Regions from separate parts of the Homo sapiens genome. Here all the other regions are linked to region 1. Evidence: promoter capture Hi-C in 16 types of primary human blood cells and fetal thymus (Javierre and others, 2016). All regions are on one chromosome and are shown on one strand. Each heading gives the region's core, a stretch centred on a gene start or on the middle of the fragment in contact. The rest is flanking DNA. Distances are from core to core; before and after follow the strand shown.

Evidence for each region. The method cuts DNA at HindIII sites, captures the fragments that hold promoters and counts their contacts. A CHiCAGO score of 5 or more calls a contact.
Region 2: a fragment that was not itself captured here is called in contact with the fragment with the promoter of SPATA13 in region 1 in 4 of 17 cell types (M2 macrophages, M1 macrophages, fetal thymus and 1 more); the score reaches 8.5 in M2 macrophages.
Region 3: a fragment that was not itself captured here is called in contact with the fragment with the promoter of SPATA13 in region 1 in 1 of 17 cell types (M2 macrophages); the score reaches 5.3 in M2 macrophages.

Annotation. Positions count from the first base shown.
Region 1 is chr13:24,159,310-24,162,864 of GRCh38, forward strand. SPATA13 (spermatogenesis associated 13) reads left to right here and starts at 1,411. Exons shown (of 13, transcript NM_001166271.3): 1 at 1,411-1,623. It overlaps MIR2276 (microRNA 2276), which reads left to right and starts at 3,107; the gene lies at 3,107-3,195. RefSeq lists a silencer at 1,302-1,361. The HindIII fragment of the contact is 10,500 bases long and covers 1-3,555 here.
Region 2 is chr13:24,029,427-24,032,982 of GRCh38, forward strand. It overlaps a transcript of SPATA13 not described here. Among named protein-coding and RNA genes, the nearest start is that of SPATA13, 130 kb to the right of the region's middle. The HindIII fragment of the contact is 905 bases long and covers 1,670-2,574 here.
Region 3 is chr13:24,012,885-24,015,922 of GRCh38, forward strand. It overlaps a transcript of SPATA13 not described here. Among named protein-coding and RNA genes, the nearest start is that of C1QTNF9B, 120 kb to the left of the region's middle. The HindIII fragment of the contact is 1,945 bases long and covers 640-2,584 here.

The sequences.
Region 1 (3,555 bases), core at 161-2,660:
ATTGTTAAAACTTGGGGTAATTTCAATAACAATTCAAAGAATTAAATAAAATTTGCCCATATTTCCACCACCCACAGATAATTATCATTAATCTTGGAGTGTGCTTTAATTAATAGACTATTTTTAGAGCAGTTTTAGGTTTAGAAAACAGGAATGGAAAGTACACGGAGTTCTGATGTACTCCCTCACGCCCCTCCCTCCACACACAGCTGCTTGTACTGACATCTTACATTCGAGTGGCACATGTGTTATGATTGATGGGCCCATGTTGTTACATTAAGATGAACTAAGTCCATTACTTACAGGAGGCTCACGCCGCATGCTGTTCATTCTGTGAGTTTTGAGAAATGCATAATGACATGAAGCCACCATTATAATGTCATACAGAGTTTTTTCAATATTTTAAAAAACATACATAAAATTAATTTTCACTTTTCATTGGGTAATATAATTTTTGTTTTTTATTTTACAGATTGTGGGTATTGTTCTTTGATTATAAAAGACAATAGACATTTATAAATAATAGTGCTGGCCACTAAATGAATCATCTAAAAAACTACACTGGTAGAAAGCATGCATTTATTTTATGAATTCCATTAGCTGCCTATCAGGGAACATGGAGCACTGGGGCACAGATCCCAGCACAGAAGGGTTTGCTTCTCTTCTGTGGTTTTCATGTCAATTAATGATTAGGCCTTGAGCCTCACAAGAAAGGTGATAGGCCTTTGAGTCGGTTTACTGCAACAGTCTACTCAAGACTTGCCCCAGGCCCTGGGAAACATGTAGGTTTAAAAATCCCTACCCTGCGTTTTCCTTTCACAGGGAGTGAACTTCTGGCCCAGGCAGTGGGCAGTGGGGCACGGTTGCCCCGGAGATGAGACTCCTCTTCCCGCCCTGGGGGGTGGGGGCTGGCTGGTGGCTGAGGGAACTATTTTTGTTTGTTTCTTTTTTTAAAAAACGGAGTCTGGCTGTGTCCTCCAGGTTGGAGTGCAGTGGCGCGATCTCGGCACACTGCAACCTCCGCCTCTCGGGTTCAAGTGATTCTCCTGCCTTAGCCTCCTGAGTAGCTGGGATCACAGGCGCCTGTCACCACGCCCGGTTAATTTTTATTTTTATTAGAGACGGGGTTTCACCATGTTGGCCAAGCTGCTCTCAAATTCCTGACCTCAGGTGATCCGCCCACCTCGGCCTCCAAAAGTGCTAGGATTACAGGCAAGAGCCACTGCGCCTGGCCGGGGAACTGTTTTTGATGGGTGGGGTCCCCGGCTGTGGTTGGTAGTGTGGGGGCGTGGCCGAGGGTGTGGCCTGAGGGAGTGAGCTAACCGGGGGCGTGGCCTGATATGGGGCGGGGGGAAGAGCCGGGCTGGGGGCGTGGCCTGGTGGGGAGCGGGGCTGGGGCGTGGCTTGGCTGAGTGTGCTGCCGCGGCGCGGGAGGAGAGTGTGCGTTGCGCTTTCTCCCGCGATCGCCCTGCCGGTCGCTAGCTCCGAGGGCGCGCACTGGATCCCAGGCTCCTCCGAGAGTGCGGCGACCTCGGGGCTCCGCCGGCACCGGAGGTGGCTCTGAGGGCAGGGACGTGTTGGACACGCTGACTTTGTAGGCTCCGCCAAGAGGCGCCGCAGGAGGTAAGACGGCTTCGGGCGCGCGGCTCTGCCGGGCGGGCGCGGGCATGGGCTGTTAGGTAGAATATCGGGAGGATTTGAGTCCCAGTGGACTGCCTCGGGGCTTCGGGATGTCCAGCTCCCAGCTGCTTGGCCTCTGCTTCCCCCGCCGGTGGAGGCTACCGGGTGCTCACCTGTTAGGTCCGTGCGCCCGCTCCCTGCCCGGCGGTGGCTCTGCGCCCTCTGGGCCACCCGGCACCATCGCTTTTGGGAGGACATGCACGTGGTGTTCTCGCAAAAGGCCGTTTCCAGCCGGAAGCCTGCAGGGAGGTCGCCTTGTAACTTCACCCGCGCTCCCAGCTCGCGGGGCCTGGCCTACAGGGGCGGCCGTGGGGGTGGCAGAGTCTGGGGAGCCTGGCGCGGCGGAGCCCTGTAACGCTCTGCTCCATCGGGTGGCGTGGCTGGTGCCTCCGGGGACCCGGAGCGATGCGGTTGGAGAGCTTAGTTTAGAAAGCAAGTTTCTCTTGGTACCAGCGGAGTCTCGTCCCAGGGGAAAGATTTTGGGACCCGGTGCCCATCGTCTGTGGACTGCAGGGAATGCATTGGCGGAGTTGGTTTGGTCCCATTCTGTGCAGGAGGTGGGGGAATTGGTACTCCAGCCCCAGGCAGGTAGAAGCCCGCGCTGCTGCCAGCGTCAGGGGGAGCTCGGGTGACTTGGGCTGGGCCACCCATCTGACTGCAAGGTTACAGAGCTTGAGCAAATTTCCCCTCCCTCCAAGTGCAGGAAAACCAAACCAAAGCAAGCAAACAAAACCCTGTGGGTCATTTGCTTCCCAGCATTGCATAGGGATGTGGATAAATAGAATAATACTGTGAATTTATTCAGCTCTTGTTCCCATGGCTTCCCATAGCCTTATATTATGCACCTCCCCCTGCCAGCATTTTCTCTGTCCCCACCTTCGGTTTTTGCTGCCTCGTGTTTTCTTCTCTGTGAACCTTTCCTGGTCACCCAGCGATTTGCTCTCCTTTATTCCCCTTGCTAACAGGCGGAGAAATCTCACTCCTTTTCTTTTTCCACCTTTCCCAACAAATTCTCCTTTTTTCCTAATGTCCCCCTCCCCCGTCTTGCAAACTTCCTCACTGCATTATTCTCGGGGTGCCTGTCATGCACCCTCCCTGTTCTCTGCCCTCCTCCCGCACTTTAGAGTTTCATGTGGCTTTGTCTTATTATCCCATATCCTAATTCTCATCTACCTCCCTTGGCCCCCACGTTTGCCATCTGCCTCCACCCAGTTCTCCCATCTCCTTCCTTATTTGTGCTCCCGTGCATATGCAGGTTTCTTCCTTGTTTCCCCATGTTTCTCCCACAGGTGCTTTCTTCCCTTTGCCCTACTTCTCCCTGGCAGGCGCTCTGCCCAGCCACAGCCTGCCCCGCCTGGAGGGCACACCTTGCCTCAGTGCCTTCTGCTGCGGTTTTCCATGCTCCATCAGCATCCCTGGGTTCCTTGTGTTCTTCCAGTCCGCCCTCTGTCACCTTGCAGACGGCTTTCTCTCCGAATGTCTGCAAGTGTCAGAGGCGAGGAGTGGCAGCTGCATCTCTGCAGGAGGACTCTGGATTTCAGGACCCTCCCTTCTGCCACTGCTTCTGACTGATTGTTTTCTTATTGAAGTCGTATCCTCTACATAGTTCTAGAATTAATGTCAATATTGATGTTAGGTAGCATCTACCAAACTCTGGGTGTGTGCCAAGCACTGTTCTGAGGGCTTAACGTGCATCAGTACTCATTTAAAATCCTCCACACATCCCTATAATGTAGGATCTACTACTGTCCCCATTTGACAGATGAGAAAAGGAAGGCTCAGAGGAGGTAACCGGCATGGCTTCTTGCCACTGCCTAGCAGTGGAGGCCCTCTTCTCACCAGACAGTGGAGCTTCCCTGCTGGGTGACCTCTTGA
Region 2 (3,556 bases), core at 872-3,371, 130 kb before region 1:
AGATTCTCAGGAGTAGGGTTGCCATAAAAAATACAGAATGTTCAGTTAAATTTGAATTTCAATTAAACAATAAAAAAATTTTGTATGTTATTTACATAAAATTCAAATAAACTGGGGACCCTGTATTTTTAAATATATATTAACATATAGACTGTTCTGTAGAGCATTTTTGGAATCACAGCAAATTTTTTAAATTTAGATTTTGATATTTTAATTTCAGGGGTACAAGTGCAGCTTTGTTAAATACACACACTTGTGTCATGGGGGTTTGTTGTACAGATTATTTCATCACCCAGGTATTAAAGCCTGGTACCCATTAGTTAATTTTTTGAGTCCTCTCCCTCCTCCCACCCTCCACCCTCCGATAGGCCCCAGTGTGTGTTGTTCCCCTCTAGGTGTCTATATGTTCTCATCATTTAGCTCTCACTTATAAGTGAGAACATGCGGTATTTGGTTATCTCTTCCTAAGTTAGTTTGCTAAGGATAATGGCCTCCAGCTCCATCCATGTTCATGCAAAGGACATGATCTAATTCTTTTTTACGGCTGCATAGTATTCCATGGGAATTCATAGCAAAATTGAGTGGAAAGTAGAGTTCTCATATATGCCCTACCTTCTCCTAACACACACACACACACACGCACACACACACACACACACACACATACATACATACATACATATACCCTCCCCTATCATCCACATCCCCCACAGCGTGGTGCATTTGTTAGAGCTGATGAACCAACACTGACACATCATTGTCACCCAGAGTCCCTAGTTGACATTAGGGTTCACACTTGGTGTTGTACATTCACTGGTGTTAGACATAGGTGTAATGGCATGTGTTCACCATTATAGTATCAGATGGAAGAGTTTCACTGCTCTATAAACTCCTGTACTTCATATTTTATTTGGTAAAACTGAAAACCCTACCCATAGGAGACTTTCCTTAAGAGCCAAGACCAAGATAGGTCACTTTCCTGTCAATGGTTTCAGTAGGGTGCTTATGCTCTCCTTATTTGACATTTCTCTGAGGGCACAGCCTTGATGTGTCTTGTCTTCCTGTGGTGCTCTCTGGTTCTTCTTTTCCCTAATCTCCTGCCCACCCATGTTTCCATTAATATTAAAGCCCCAGCCCCAGAGCCTAGAGCTTTAGATGTCCCCAGCGCCCTAGAACTGGAAGATGCCCCAGGCTGTCTGAGTATTCAACAATCTCTTATTTCCCTGGATTTATCTTATGACTTCATTCCTGATTTCAGGGGAATTCTTTTATCTTGCTACTACAACCATACATGTTTAAGGGTTTTGTTCCTTTAAAAAAATATATTGACTCTAATATTCTTAGGTGTTCTGTAGTGGGAGGATTTTTAGAATCTCCAGTCTACCATATTGCCAGCAGTGGAAAAGACCTTTATGTAGGTAATCTCATTTAATCCTCACAGCCCAATGAAATGGATACTATTTTTCTAATTTTACAGAGAACCCTGAGATTTTAAAAGGTTAAATAATTTGCTTAAGTCCACAAAGTAACAACCAATCTTAGAATAATAATTGAATAACCGTTCAATTCTAGCTCTTCTAGTCTCCAAAGCCTATGTTTTCACCCAGTTTACCGCATTTTCTTCCATTTCTCAATATCTTCTCCCATTCAAAGTAGCAAATGGTTTTAAAGCTTATTTTAATTTATTTAGTTGTGGCTGATTTATTCATTGATTGATTGATACCATGCTTAGAACTGCTGCGGAGGGGAGGCCCTTTCATGGATGGCATGGATGCCAGCATTGGGACTGGCCTGTAGGTTAGGCAGGACCTCAGTCTGTGGCAGTTTCTTAGGGCATTTAGCACAGACCAAGGTCTGGTCCATAGCATAACTGGTTGGGAGACTCCCTTCCATTGGTTTCTTTGGATTTGATCTGACTCTAGCACACCAATTCATGCTAGCACATCTCCTAAGCCAGACTTCCAATGTATTAGTTCACAATGAGAGAGAGTCCTTTTCGGTAACTTGTGTCCACTTTCCCAGATCTTTCCAGATACCAAGACAATGGGGAAAACACATCTATGACTAGACATATGCTTGGCAGGAATTACTGCCAAGATTTAAGTAACTTAAAGAAATTAAATGGCCTTTGAGCCATGAAAAATCTGGTGAAATGAACATTTTTAATAACTGAGATTTCTACCACAGAATAGGTCAAACAATGAACATACATTGAGCTTATGTCAGGCACTGTAGATGCAAAAATAGCTAAGACCTCATATGACCTGCCCTTGGGGAATTTATAATCTTGGACCTTCTCTCTCCCTTAAACAATCCTCAGTCAACACTAGAAAATTATCTTTCTTATATCTACATCCAGCATTCTGCAGTTAATTTCAGAGCAGTGGATATCTACTCTGGACACCCTCTGGATTTCCAAGATATTCTGTGTACCATATTTACAAGCTATCACATTAGGTGAGTTCCTTCTTTGGGTCAAGGTTTTCCTTCATTTTTGGATAATTCTTCACCCACAGTTGTCCTCTGTGTTCTAAGTTCTGACAATGATTCTTTTGCTTGGCCAAACTTTAGTCAAGCTTCTGAATCTTCTGCTATGCCCATCTTGCAAAAATTCAGTTTTTGCAAGAACCCTGGTAAGTCAGTTTAGTAAGAACACCCATGCTTGGTGTCTGATTATCCTCCACCATCCCCCAGGTGACGTCTGATCACCCGGCTTCTCTTCAGCAAGAATTCTGGTAGGCTGGTTCAGCTACAACCCCACCTCACCCTGACGTTCCCTCTTAGTGATTTTCTGTCCACTGACTCCCACCCTGCTCCTTGGCTATAAATTCCCACTTGCCCATGCTGTATTCAACACTGAGCCTGCTCTCTCTCCCCTATGGCAATACCACATAGCAGTGGTCCCTATACCCATTGCAATGGTCCTGAATACATTCTTTCTCACTGTGATGTAACAAGTGTCATGGGAATATTTCTTCTTAAACAGTCCACATGGTATTATTCTTAACAACCACTCATATGGCATTAGGAATAAATGGAATGTTGTTGGAATCAGTTCAGCTCTGTCTCTGCCAGAGATTTCATAAGGAGTCGTTACAAATATGTTGGGTTTCCTTTATACTTGTTCACAGGGTAACTGACTGCAAGGAAAGGTTCCTTCCCTGTCGTTTCTGCAGTAATGGAGAGTATAGAAGATTTTGGTTGAAAATAAGGCATTAGAGTTTCAGAAACATGGGAAAATCCAGGGCACGAGCAGAATAACTTCAAAATAACTTTATATTTGAGAGTTAAGTTTGCCCTAAAATGTGACTGAACTTTTAAATATGAGTAAACCTAAATGTGCTCACTACATTGGGGTGGCCTTACCCTAGTGGCTTGCCAGAGTCCAAGGTCCAGTTTTTATTCTTACAGTTCAGTTTAGTTGAGTAAGTAGGTCTGAGACTTAATATTTGTTTTCTATTAATTGGTCACCAACACTGGGAATACTGGGGCGTTTGATAAAGTCCTGGCCAGGGAGAATGACTCATTTGTCTCACTCATTTTGGGTAGATTGGAA
Region 3 (3,038 bases), core at 362-2,861, 150 kb before region 1:
CCTCCTGTGGCTGGCACTCCCCAGCTGTGGCTGGGGACAGGGCACACCTAGGCCACAACTCTCCCTCATCCAGCAGGCCAGCCCGACACCTTCTCACCGTGACGGCAGAGTGGGGAGCAAGCAAAGCCACACTGTGTGAGCTTTCCAAGGGCCCATTGTCACCCCTTTGCTAATACCCCACTGGCTGCAGCCCATGTGGCTGAGCCCAGAGCCAGGGTGGGGGGTACATGGCAACCTGTGCAGACATGGAAAAACCTCAGCCTCCTCTTCTCCCACTGAAACGGGCTTAGAGCTCTTCCTGTCTCCCCACGCGTGCTGCACTGTTTCATGCTCTTTCTCCCAAGGAACTTCTCCTCAGCTCAGCTCCCGCTCTGTAAGTGGAACTCTGATTTCATCTGAGCACCCTGGCTTCCACAGCATTGCATGCCCACTGCCAGCCCGTTCCTCCCCTCCCTCACCCACTGGGCTGACGATCCTCTCCCACTTGCTGCTCAGTTTCCCTCCTGGTTTGTCCCAGCTCTGGGGCCCATGGGCAGCCCCCTCACCCTTGTGCCTTGCCCCCCATACCTGGGACACTGCTTGGGGACAGTGCCCAGGATTCTACCTACTCTGAGAATGGGGACAAGAAATCTACACACAAGCTTAAGTCGCCCTTATCCTAAAAAGGTACTTTTTTCCTGACCTTGTGAATTCTTCCAAGATCTTATTGATCTCTAATTTGCCTTTTGTGAGAAAATGTTTTGAAAGAGTAACCTACACCCATCGCTTTCATTCCTTACCACCCACTTGCTCCTTGTCCCTTACAGTCTTTTTTTTTTCCACTTTTTTTTTTTTTTTTGCCCCAGAAGACCAGGCTGTCAACAGTCTGCAGTGTTAGGAGTGCCACATGTGTTCATTTATTTTGTCCTCTAAAAACCTCGAAGGCTTGGGTGCTGCATACAGTCAATAGCCGTTTGACCCATGAGAAAATCAGAGCTCAGCCTGGTCATGTTGTTCATGAGGTTATTGGGAGCAGGTAATGGACTGTAGGCCTTTCTGACTGCAGAGCCTGTTTTAAGCTGTTGTGCTGTACTGACTCGATGTGCAAGTCTGGAGTGTGCTAGAGTCAGAGCCTCCAAACCCGTCACGCAAAGGGGCTGTATACGCTTGCTAGGGCTGCTGTGCCACAGTTGAGTGGCTTTGACAACAGAAATGGTTTGCCTCGCTGTCCTGGAGGCTGGAGGCCACAGGGTCAGCAGGGCCATGCTCCTTTTGCAGGTGCCAGGGAAGGTCGGGGCCCAGCCCTTCTCCCAGTTCTTGGTAGCTTAACTCCAGTCTCCACATTGCATTCTCCCTGTGTGCATGTCTGTGTCCAGAGTCTCCCTTTCCATTAGGACACAAGTCATATTGGATTAGGCTCTCACCCTAATGACCTCATCATAACTAAAGTTGACAACTCGGGGGCACCAACACACCCCCCTTCCCCCATGCAGAAATGGCCCCACTGTTTCTGGGGCCTTTCAAAACCTGCATGTAACCTTTGACTCCCCCAAAACTTAACTACTAATAGCCTGCTATTGACCAGAAGCCTTACCGATAATGTGTCAGTGGATGAACACATATTTTGCATGTTATATGTACTGTATACTGTAGTCTTACAATAAAGTAAGCTAGAGAAAATAATATTTGAAAATCATAAGAAAGAGAAAATATATTTATTCATTAAGTGCAAGTGGATCATCCAGGTAAAGGCCTTCATCCTGTGGTCTGTTAGTTTGTAACAAAATAGTGTATGTCTTCTCCTAAAATTTACTATTGTTATTTAACAACTTCCTTTAAAAGGAAGGTAAGTGGTTTAGTGAAACTGATGAGAGGAAACAAATCCTGATTTCAATTGTGAATTAAGGGTGTTATTCACACAAGTTATTTCAGTTCCTGTCTTCTCCCTTTTGGTTAAGATTTCCACAGGATTGCTGTAGTTCTGAGATCCAGGTTCCCTTTTTGGCACTTTCTGGATTTTTTTTTTTTTTTTTTTTTTTTTTTTTGAGACAGAGTCTCGCTGTGTCGCCCAGGCTGGAGTGCAGTGGCGCTATCTGGGCTCACTGCAAGCTCCACTTCCTGGGTTGATGCCATTCTCCTGCCTCAGCCTCCCAAGTAGCTGGGACTACAGGTACCCGCCACCACGCCTGGCTAATTTTTTTGTGTTTTTAGTAGATAACAGGGTTTCACCGTGTTAGGCAGGATGGTCTTGATTTCCTGACCTCATGATCTGCCTGCCTTGGCCTCCCAAAGTGCTGGGATTACAGATGTGAGCCACCGTGCCTGGCCACTGGATTTTTATAGTAAACAATGACCTCTGTGACTCTTAACGAGAGATGAATAGATACAAAAAGTCTTATAAGCAAAAACATCGCTGAAAGCCAGAGTTTACTGCAAAATAGACACATGACATTATTTAATTTTTTTCCCAAATAGAGAACCTAAGTAAAAGCCTTAGCAATTTACCTTTTGCTGAGAGGAACTAGCTGGACTGTACATTTTAAGAAAATCCTTTCTTCAAAGTACATGTGAGGAAAAACTAATTTCGGGGACAGCCCTGCTTCCAAGCTTGTTTCTCCTGTGGCATCCCCTCTCTGTTAGCAGTAATTTAATAAAAAACCTGAATATGACCCTGTTGTGAGCTGAGTCAGGCCTGACCCTGAGCCAGGGGCCACCTGGCCCCTCTGCTTCACTCTCACCATTGCCCACTCATGGGGCTTCTTTTCTGCTCATGGTTCATCCCAGAAGGTTTTTCCCTGCCATCCCCTAGAAGGTCAGACCAGCCAGGACACCCCCGGCCTTCCTGATCCTTCCCCTTTGGGGCGACCCCTGGCAGGCCCCCCCCCAATTCCTAGGTCCACCGTTTCTGGGGTCTTTCCAGCCAAACCATGCCAAGGTGAGCCTCGGCTGGTGACACGTCATAGTCCCCTCATGACCCCACCTAAATCAGCAAAATGAAGTTGTTGGTTCTTAGAAATAATTTAAAACACAGAGGCATTTCCTCAGGCAGTGGGATTTGA